3 separate regions of the Homo sapiens genome follow, and regions 1 and 3 are each linked to region 2. The links are contacts of gene promoters, found by promoter capture Hi-C in human tissues and cell types (Jung and others, 2019). All regions are on one chromosome and are shown on one strand. The core of a region is centred on a gene start or on the middle of the fragment in contact, and the rest is flanking DNA. Distances in the headings are between cores, read along the strand shown.

Evidence for each region. Contacts are between HindIII fragments. The study calls those that stand out against the background at their distance.
Region 1: a contact is called between a fragment that was not itself captured here and the fragment with the promoter of PTN in region 2, in 2 of the 25 tissues and cell types used here (mesenchymal stem cells and mesendoderm cells).
Region 3: a contact is called between a fragment that was not itself captured here and the fragment with the promoter of PTN in region 2, in 3 of the 25 tissues and cell types used here (dorsolateral prefrontal cortex, liver and spleen).

What each region holds. Positions count from the first base shown.
Region 1 is chr7:137,144,052-137,147,902 of GRCh38, forward strand. The region is part of intron 1 of LOC349160 (a long non-coding RNA gene); the gene reads right to left. Among named protein-coding and RNA genes, the nearest start is that of PTN, 200 kb to the right of the region's middle. The HindIII fragment of the contact is 6,054 bases long and covers 1-3,851 here.
Region 2 is chr7:137,341,730-137,345,425 of GRCh38, forward strand. PTN (pleiotrophin) reads right to left here and starts at 2,004. Exons shown (of 5, transcript NM_002825.7): 1 at 1,710-2,004. RefSeq lists promoters at 1,798-3,696, 1,798-2,543 and a cis regulatory region at 2,547-2,556. The HindIII fragment of the contact is 6,839 bases long and covers 8-3,696 here.
Region 3 is chr7:137,212,476-137,216,359 of GRCh38, forward strand. No RefSeq gene overlaps it. Among named protein-coding and RNA genes, the nearest start is that of PTN, 130 kb to the right of the region's middle. The HindIII fragment of the contact is 6,151 bases long and covers 1-3,884 here.

The DNA.
Region 1 (3,851 bases), core at 1,128-3,627, 200 kb before region 2:
AAAATATTATAACAACCCATTTCTACTTATGTGTCAAATCTTTCCTCCTAATTATTTTATTTCTTCCACTTAATAAACAAATGCCCCGGGTTATTACAATTTGCTTTTCCCCTGGAGAGTTTTATACACTTTATTTACACTGCCTCACCAAAATTATTAACAAGAATATCTTATTATTATTACATTATAGTGTCCCCAGGCAGAACCTGAAGTCTTGCTGAAACTAAAAGCTGGCAGAAGCTATTGATATTTTTATACAGTTCCAGGTAAGACAATAGAGAGAGGTTAGCATAAAGAGCTGAAGCTATTTGGGCTTCTTAATGCAACATAGATGAAAAGAGTCAAGAATGTAGTCCCAGCCTACCAAAAAAATAAAAACAAGAAAATTAGAGCAGGTGATAGAAAACCAGGGTCAGAACAAAACTGACAATTAAGGGTTGCAGATAACTGCAAACCAAGAGTCAGAGACTTGAGAGCAATGTCAACAAAGGTAGAGGAATTTGGGACTAATACATCAGCGAATTACTGGGATCTTCAGAATCAAAACAAAAATGAAATAGGAAGCATTCACAAGGTTTAAACTTGAAAAAGTATGTCTGGATCAAAGCATCTATTTGCAGATAATTACCCCCAAGTTTCTGTCTACAATCACTAACTTTAATCAAATGATCCTCTGATATGCCCGTGCTCACATAGGCCTTGCTCTTCTGGCCCTGCAATACTTTGGACCAGAAAACAGATTGATGCAATGAAGGGAGGAGAATCAGAATGAACAGTTTAATTAAAATAACATTTTTAGCTGAATTCTCAAGGTATTTACGTCTAAACCAGATATCTTTCTCTCTTTCTCTTTTTTTTCTTTCTTTCCTTTTTTTTTTTTAGACAGAGTCTCACTCTGTCACCCACGCTGGAGGACAGTGGCACGATTTCAGCTCACTGCAGCCTCTGCCTTCCCAGTTCAAGTGATTCTTGTAGCCTCCTGAGTAGCTGGGATTATAGGCATGTGCCGCCATGGCCAGCTAATTTTTTTTTTTTTTTTTTTTTTTTTTAGTAGAGACAGGGTTTCACCATGTTGGCCAAGATGGTCTTGAACTTCTGACCTCAAGTGATCCACTCTCCTTGGCCTCCCAAAGTGCTGGGATTAGAGCCGTGAGCCATCACGCCCAGCCCCAGAGAGCTTTCTTACTTGAAATTCTTGTTTCTATCTATGCTTTGGCTTTTCTTACCATTTTGATGTGTTCTTGGTATCACCTTGAAAAGCCCTGTTACTGGTTTCTCCTTTCTCATCCCGTGATTCAGCTCCATGGATAGCAGACTAGAGTTGTAGCCTACATAAGAATGTGGCTATAATTTTGCATATCCTTGGCTTCTCACTCTGCCCAGTCTTTATTTCACAGTAGCAGCAATCACATATTGACAAGACGTATTGTTTAGAAGACTTTTCTAAGACTTACAGAAAGTGCTTGCTAGAAGTATGTCTTGGATTATAATATCATTATTAATACAGCAATAGTGTTTAAAGAGTATTCCAGGATTCCAATGAATGTATTTTAGGCAACAGAGTTAAGAGCTCTTGTCCAACTGGGCTTGTTGAACTGTATCTCTAGTCATCATTGTCCCATTTGTTCTTAATAGAGTTATCACTTGAATGAAATGAAATTCTAAGCAAAATAAAATAATTTGAGTTAGGTCAGGAAGAGAAGTTCTGATTTGAGAAAGCTACATAGAGTTCAGAGAAGCTGAGAGAATCTAGAGAATCTCTGGGTTCTTCGTTCTTCCCACTCACTACACAATATACACAGAAATTTACCCTTAAAATTTCATCTCTCACTTTTTTCTTATCATTAATATTTTTTTCCTATTTCACCATTTTCCTGAATTCTGTTTATATTTAGTCTTACTACAGAACTTACTGGCTACTAGGTTGTAATTTAGAAGGACATTTCCTTGCAGATATATTCTGGAAGATGTCACTATCAGCAGCAGAAATTCAGCTGTCCTGACCAATAAGAAACATTCCGTTGGTCTTTGCACAAGAATGTGCCCACTTGGACTGTTTAATGAATTGTAGGTCTCACAAATTGCAGCCACTGTGTCTAAGGAATGTTCTCTCTCATTAAACAAATTATATTATTTCTAGGCCTCCCCCACACTCAAAACATACTCAATTTTCTTAATGACTCTGTAAGACAAGGTTTAGATAATACAGAAGGCATGGATATAGTATGATACTGAGGTCATAACAAATATTCAAAGTGACTCATGGAGTGTTAGCCACAGGGATTTGCCTCCTCTCTGAGGGATTTTGTTTTTGTAGGTTCACTCATAAAGATTAAAAGAAATAGGCAATGGGATAGTAAACTGGAAAATATATTTGAAGACATAATTCAATTTCTATCCAGTGGCAAAAAAAAAAAAAAACCAGCTAAGACGTTATAATATTGTCTCTGCCTTTTAATTCTCTAAGTGAAACCAGACTATCATGTAATAAATCTACTTTAAAGTGATTCTTTTAAAGGTAAAAAGTTGAAGGTAACCACAGAGAAGAATTTTAACCTTATGAGTAATAATCTAAAATGGTTTTTGTATTTATGTCTAAAACGAATGCATTGTCGGAGCAATCTGACCACGCAAATTCCTGTTACTGACGGGCAGAGCTGGGATTCCTGTTGTAAGCCTGATGTGGCTGTCTTCCTCTCCCTGTTCCATTTCTAGAAGTTGTAATGTTAAGATGCCACAATGCCTGCTGATGGTACTAGACAGAGTATTGCAGATGTTCTTTGAATACAAATACTGCCTGCCTCACATACCCGTGAGAATAGCTGCAGAATGGAGGCCATGATTAGAGGATGGAATTCAATGACCATTACTCCTGCTTATGTTATTAATTAGAAACATTCTACACATAAACAAGAGTTTCGGAGGAGCCTGTTATTAATGTAACAAAGAGATCTTTTCAGTATCTGCCATTTACACACACACGGTTCTCAGTGATTCCCAGAAATTGTTAGTAAAATCAAGTTGTTTAGAGCGCATGGCCAGATTTTTCTCATTTCCCAACCTCTGTGCAGAGCATGCTGGAATGAGTTATTGAGGGAAACTCTAAGAATAGAAATACTATTAATTCATGCATGTATAAAGTGCTTAACAGCTTACAAAACACATGCATACCTGCTACCTCATTAATCTTCACAACCATAAGAGATATGTTACTGATATTATTGCCATTTTACAAAGAAGAAAAAAAGGAGGTTTGGGAAGCATAAATAACTTTATAGGATCACATGGCTATTAAAAAGTGGAGTTGGAGCTACCATTTATATTTTTGATTGCAAGTGTGGGGAGTATCTACACTGAACTAAAAAATGACCAGCTAGCTCCAAAATAGAAAATACCTATAATTAGGCATGGTCCTCTCTGAACATAGCAAGTTATCTTTGCTGAATGCTAGATGTACATTCCACGCATAGAAGCAGAGAGGGCATTGGTGGAATTTGGTGCCTCTCCAAGCAGTGCTCCTTAGAATGCGATTCACATATTGGGTTGGTCTGCTGTTCGTAACTGGTCTCAAAGGAGATAAGTGCCAACATGGAGAGTAAGCATTTGGAATGTGGCATGGCAACTTCACAGAGTAAATCTGTATCTGTTGAATGACAAAAAATTGGAGTTTATATTTTGAATGTCCTTTTAAAAAAGTTTTATATTTTGTATTCATTTATGTTTATTGTATTTTACAAAAGGAGCAGCCCACAAGAAATTGTGGGAAGAAAATGGTTCCTCTCCCAGTTTTGCGTGCATGAGAAGCTCCACTTCAGGGGAGACTCACCTTGCCAAACTAGAGAATGCATCTG
Region 2 (3,696 bases), core at 754-3,253:
AAGATGTCCTAAAGGGAACCAGTGAGCAGTGGCAGAAAAAAGATCACCTTCTATTTATTTAAAGTACAATTAGAGAACTTAAGGCCCAAGTTTCTTAAAGCACAAAAGGATGGCATTAGAGTTTTTTTTAAATAATATAATTTTTTAAAATCTCATCTTCTAATTTAAATGAAAAAGTACAAATATTGCCAGTCTGAAATAACTCATGTCCCAAAGGAAGAAAAAAATATTCATTCTAATTTCCTCTGAATTTAACTGGACTATATTTTTTAAACGACTTGGCCTTTAAAGTGCATAATTTACTTAAAAGGAAACATAATGAAGATGGAAAATACAGCTTTATTTTCTGTGTTGGGAGACTTCTCTTTTGTTTCATTGTCATTAACTTTCAATATTTCTACATATCAATGCATTCCCGGATAATTAAGGGGCTAAAATGGGCCCTGCTGTTTCATCAATTCCACATTTGCCTAGGATCATAAAATGTTTCATTATGTTATTAGTCCAGAGCTCTTTTTGGTGATTTCTAAATCTCCTCCCAGACCCCTCTCTCTAGCACACACACACGCACATGCACACGCACACACACACATCACCCCTTTCTCAAGCTGCTAAAGCAAAATGCCTGATAACTCTTAAAATGAGAGATGCTCAAGGACCGCAGCTTTAATATTTTCTCCTCTTAGCACCCCTACCCCTCCTATTTTCTGAATGTGTCCCCAAACTTACAAAGCAGCTCTTAACAGACACAAGGGTGAGTTAACACTAGAGTGTATATAAACTGCATGTGTGTGTTCCTGTGTGTGTGTGTGTGTGTGTTGTGTCACATTATGTCATGGAGAAAGGGGTGTGTGTGTATGGAGAGGAGAGAGGAGGTTTCACTTTCCATCTATTAAGAAAGGAGTTGAATACATTCCTCTCAAAAAATGTTTTCTTAACTTATTAGAAACAACAACTCAGAAACTCTAAATATCTAGTAAATTAGTAACAAATATATCCTAAATTTATGTGGGTCAAATTAAAAGTTTAAGGGTCTATGTACTGGGCAGTTCTTTAAATTTGCATTCAAATGAGAGATGGGACTCCAGGTGTGTCTTCTAAACTTTGGACCTAACCATTTCTGGAACCATTCCTGGGCTGTCAGGTGGGAAGACGGGTGCCAGTAGTTCCGTGAGAGACGTTTCATGTCAGCTAGCACTGGGAGGAACAAGCCCCCACAGCTTACCTAGAAATGCCAGCTAAGAGTCATGGGCTGACAGGCTCTGGGGCAATCAGAGAATCAGAGAGAGGCTGGGAAAATGAGAGCTGCTTGTTCAGGCTGCCTTACTTTCTTTGCACCTACCCAGCCAGAGACACACCTACTAAAGCTCCAGGTTTTACAAAAAGCAAAGATGCACTCTCCAGCCCACCCTGTCTTGCTCTCCAGCTGGTAGCTGGAACACGGTCCAAATACATGCTTAACATCACAAAAACTTCTTTCCTTTCACTTACCTAAGCACACCCGAACTAACCTAACCTGAAACCCCAAAAATATGCCTCCCTTGGCCTCTGGAGCAAGTCAGTTTTGAAAGCAGTCCTATCAGCAAAGACACCAGGCAGCCTCTCTCACCCCTACCACCATCATCTGCTGGCACCCAGAAAAGTGGCACAGGGTGAAGGCAAACTCGATCGAAGAGCCCTCCGAGAAATCGTACGTTCCTCTCACTTACTTTGAGTTGGAAACGTCCTCTCTGGCGCTCAGTCTGCCTTTGTTGCAAGGGGCGAGGTTGCTACCGCTGAGTCCAGGTACCCGGCTCGCTGCAGCTCCTGCTTGGGCCGCTGCTGCTCTCCCCGCCTTCTGGACGGATGACTCACTGGTCTCTTTCTTCCCCTCTCTCCACTTTGGATTTTCCTCTGCTCTGGGGCTCTCTTGGCGGGATTTTTGGACTGGAAGGCGGGGAACCTGATCCTGCCTTTGACTCAATTACGCCCTGACAGGGAGGGAACGGAAGGGAAATGGAGAATGGGAGGGATGAGAGGAGCGGGCCAGGAGGACGAAGGCTGGGCGAGGGAGGGAGAGCGCTTTGCACTCGAGAGCTGATTGGGAAGCTTATTAAAAGCAGAATACTCCAGGGGCAGTCTCTCCCTGCGGAGCAAGAAAACGGATTTGAACCAAGAGGCCATGAGATGGTACCTTGTTTTGTTTTTAGCAGAGACGAAACACAACATTTCTTTTCCAAACTCCACCCATGATCTATTCTTCAGATGAGTGCAAAGCCACTTTGCCAAATAGGATATTTTAAATGGACAATTGATGGCATTTTAGGTTACATTTTTGGCCCCCCACAATCCTTTAATGATATTCAGAATGGAAAAGCACTCTCTTCAAACCAGCCTCTTCTTCCACCCACGAAAGCCCTCTCTAAACACAGAGACAGTAAGGTGTCAGTCACATCTCACCTGCAAAGCACAAAATGTACAAAGTACTTTTTCTCAATTGTCACAAAGAGTGACAGACGTCTCAAAGTTCCCAATTAAGTGCTACTTACCTTTAGGGAGAGCTCTTTCCTTTTTTGGTTTCCTTGGTGCCTTTAGCAACCTATTTAGTAACATGCCTTTGACACCCAAGAATTTAGAGGATTCGTCAAAGTAGCTCAAACTCTGAGGTTTGTAAAACTTGGAGGCTGGGCTTTGCGTCTCTGGAATTGTCATTTCATTCAATACAGGAAAGACGCTAAGGCAATGCATAGGTAAATATTTATGATAAAGATGAGATAAAAGTATTGTGTAAAAGGATTAAGATGTATTATACAAATTCACCCAAACATTTTCGAAATGTAAATTTCGAGATTTTCTGCCACTTATCAGCTTTTCCTGCTCCGTGGCTAGCTCCTTTTACCTACTTTTACCTTTACTGGTCAGCTTATCATTTGATGGCGTCCTTCCCAAATTGGTTGTAAAATAGACCACATTTTTCATAATTCTGAGGTTACATCCCTTCATTTCAATTTGACAAATATTTATTAAGCAATTTGTTTACTTAGAACTATCCTTAAATCCCCAAATTAGAAGCATTGTCTTGTGGCAAGTAGTTTTTAGGGACTTGGGGCTCTTCTATTGACAGCTACCTGTAGAAATGTCCCTTGGAGAAGTTGACTGGAGCCAGACGTGGCTCTACAAACTCAATCAAGCAGTCAATCAAGCTTTTCAAAAGGAAAGGCATCAGAGATGCACTTACACACCTACAATTTATCCCCCTTCCCAAACTCTTCATATACATACCACATACAATTCTCAAATGAAATAACTAAATAAGGAAGCTGTGTTCCTTTCTCCTACACACAGGCTTCAGGTTACCTGTTTTCCTTTTGTGATTCCACTTCTGTGTGAAGCAAGCAGTGCTTGTTTTAATCAGATTTCACCTGTATAAAGTGTGGAGAAACGCACATTAGCATTTTTTTTTGGCATTTTTCCCAGTCCCTTTACCAAAAAAGATATCTCAGCATTCTATTAACACTCCATAGGGGCAAAGTTTCTAAGGCATTGAACAAAGAGCTATCCATTTTCTTTCTGTTCTTCAGCTTTATGTTAACATATACAAATGTAACATACAGCTAGCTACCAGTTAGGTGAACAATGCTGGCTTGATTGAGGTGTTCTCTATAGGGCTGATAAAGTAAGCATGAGATTCCCATGATTTCTACTCAATTACATATG
Region 3 (3,884 bases), core at 1,200-3,699, 130 kb before region 2:
GTGCTAAAACTCCACAGGTATATTCCCTAAGTGTACACCTTAACTAAGCTTCTAAAAAGTGATTACAAGCTTCTATTGGATGAACAGCTTCAGACAATGGTATATATTTTAGGACCATTGAATCCTGTGGTGATTCACGCATTGTAGTGCCTGTTGTTTTTTGCTGAGAATTGTGTCCGTTTTTTGAGGCAATATTATAAGCATTGTCAATAAACCAGGAATTCTATGAGCCCTTGAATAATGAGGGTAGCAGAGAAGATAAATTCATATTTAAGACGTGAATCAGTGTGAACAGGGATGACTTGGCTGGATCTCGCAGAATGTCCCACTCCAATCCGAGTTGGCTGCATACTTCAGGGCCACTGAATATATGTGTACACGGGGAATATTTTGGAAGAATATGCATAAAAATGTTAACATTACCTCAAGAAAATATTGAGGCGTTATTAGCTTTTTCCTAATATACTTTCTTTTTGATAGATCCATTAAAAAGAAATGAATAAAAAAAGAGAAAGAAACAAGGGCAGAACTTCCACTAAGAATCTAATTCTCATTTATAATTTGTAGATGGTTTTTCTTTATCTTGTTTCCCTAGTCTACAATCCTTGAATTAACCTAATAAAACAAATAATCTTTGTTATTTTATTGTAAAATAATTCATGATTTTTGCCTTATCATTGAAGTGAAGACAATTCCTTTATATTTAAAAACTAGAACATAAACATGTTTATAACAAAGTAAACTAGAACATAAACATGTTTATAACAAAGTACAAACAAAAAGTACAACAGAAAATATAATATGGCAAAATTCATAGCTGCTATTAATGTATGCATTAAGGCATATTAATGTGGAAGTTACTGCACAGATACAATTCAAGGTTGATATTTGTACATATTACCTACTTAAGGGCATTGGAAGATTCATTTTCTTATTCTGTGTTTTATAGCTGTTATTCAACCTAATAATTTATACGTGACTAGCAGAATGGAGTCCAGTGGTCTTGATTTAAATATGGCTAATTACTATAGTATATATTTATATAGCTTTGAGTTTATATAATTTTTATTTCACATAACGGTGGGTGGAAAAGCAACTAACATGTTATTATTGATACAATTCCTATGTTCTTCTGTTGTGAGTGTCTTCGGACATGTTACATAACCTCTCTGCATGTTAGTTTTCTTAACTATAAAATGAAGCTCTTATTAGCCCTCATATCTCAGAATTGTTGTTAGAATTAAAGAGATAATCCAAAATAAGTACTTATAACAGAATTTTGAACCTAGTAGGCACTCAATAAAGTTATTATTAATATTGTTTTCAAAGCGTTCTACATTTTTGAAATTTATTATAGAATTTGATTTATAGGAAAGGAAAAGTATTTTTAAATATTATTATTTACTATTATTAATGTCCACCCACCAGAATTTGTCACATCAGCAAATGTGCATAATATATAATTGTACATAACTTTCTATGTATTAAAAAGGTTGAACATGAGAAACGTTCAACTGAGAATTAAGAATTGAGAATTAAGCAATTAGATGGTAAAGTGTAAGAATTGGCAGATGGGGATTGGGTTATGAAATCTATCCTGAACAGAGATTTTAACATACCTTTTTAGAGCACAAAATTGTTGACAACTAAATCAATATATAACACAGAATAATGAGTATAAAGGAAGCTGGCTAAAGAATTGGAAGAGTCTGTAATCCCAGCACTTTCGGAGGCCGAGGCAGGTGGATGACTTGAGGTCAGGAGTTCAAGACCAGCCTGGCCAACATGGCAAAACTCCATCTCTACAAAAGTACAAAACTTAGCCAGGTATGGTGGCACACACCTGTAATCCCAGCTACTCAGGAGGCTGAGGCAGGATAATCGCTTGAACTCTGGAGGCGGAGGTTGCAGTGAGCTGAGATTGTGCCATTGTACTCCAACCTGAGTGACAGAGGGAAACTCCATCTCAAAAAAAAAAAAAAAAAGAATTGGAACAAAACACTATGGTTAATCTAGTGCAAAGAGGACAGAGGAACCAACGGCACTACGGAGAAAAGAAAGTGGTATATTTGGGGCCTGGCATGGAAGACAGGCTAGTGTTTGGGAAAAAAAGGCAGGCCCCTGTCTGAAAACGTAGTGAATAGGACCACTACAGTGTGCAATTGACATAGATGCATTACACCTCTCTAGTCTTGCCTATGCTTGTGGCCTTCATTAGAACAGGGCTCTTAATTAATGGGTACCCGAAGTGAATTTGGGGCACATGACTTAAGCAGGGAGGAAAAACATGCTTATTTTCACTCATCTCTAACTAAACTGAGTTTCAACATTTTCTTCCATTGCAAATGTGGATAATAAACCACGACGTTACTTTTTATTTTTTTCATACCTAGAAGTTGCAGATTATCTTGTTAGAGTTTTCACAAATATATATAAAAGTATCATCTGTATGTATCACTACTTTCAGTAATTCTAGACCCTGTCATTTCATGTGTTAATAATAAAGCAAAATACTTCCTTATCAAAAATTTGTTTTCTTAATATGGTGACAACTCTATTTCAATGTCATTGAAATAATTTATAATCCAATATAATTTATCTCTAGCATTTAAAAACACTATTCTGTGAAGGGGTATGTAGGGTTCTCCAGACTGCCAAAGCGGGTCATGGAGCAAAAACTTCTCAGAACTCATACGTTACAATTAGCAGTTTGGTTTTAGCAACTCCCACCCCTCTCTCTATCAAATTAGTTCTCCGACAGTCTCCATTGAGCTCCAGCTATTAATTCGTATTATGTATCTCTAGGATTCTTAGGTAAATGGTTCCTATTGTTGTATGTGGACAAGATTAATAATTTTTACATCCCCTTTTTCTGTTTTTCTTTACTCTCTCTTTTGTCCATTTTCATTCCATTAAAATAAATTCCCTATCTCAGCACACAACTGAAGATGAAGGAGACAAATTCAAGTAGTTAGGGAAGATTCAGAACAGCTTATATCTGGAAGTAGGGAGCTCCACAAAGGGATGAAAGTTGCCAAAAGGAAGGAAAAGAAAGGTAGGTTAGGAGGGAGGAGACGGAGTTTCAGACAGTACTGTAGGAGGAAAGACGAGCAGAGCAGACAGAACCCAGAACCTAGAAGATAGAGGAGGAGTAGCCAGAGGTTGCCCAGAAGCTGATATCAAGGAAGTCCAACAAGAAGTAAAATGTAACCCAGAGGACATGGCAGCAGGTATTCTAAGATCAGGCAAAAATACAGCAGAGATATACCTTAAAACCTGGAGATAAAATTTGCATCACACAAGTCTGTCCAGAGCTGGTAAGGGATTCAGAACAAACCTGCCCCTGAGTTGATGATGGTACCTGAGGGGAGGGGAATTAAAAGAAAAAACAGAGTCCAGTCTTATAAGGATTAGAATACTGGGCTGAGTTTGAACCAGGGAGTAGGAGGTTGCAGTGAGCCGAGATCGTGCCTCTGCACTCTAGCCTGGCGACACAGCACACAGCAAAACTCCGTCTCAAAAAAAAAAGAATACTGGGCTGAATATAAGAAAGTTAATTAAAGACAGAGTAGAAAAGGGTAATAAGCTGGAAACTCTCTCAGGTACAACACATGACCCTAATTCTTATACCTGGGGCGCAATGTGAGCATGACAGAAGTAAGACTGGCTTGATGCTGAATTTTCCATTAAATCAGATCATTTTAAATAACTGAGGAAAGGATGGTTCACAAAGCTTACACTGTGACTGAGTCTTCTAGTCTGGGTGACCTGATTTATGTTAATGGGAATGGAGGTATATGGAAGCAGGACACCAGGAAGTTTATGACAACTTGTCAGCTCTCGAAATCGGCTTTACTCTCTGAGCAGTATCCACTTTGTATGAC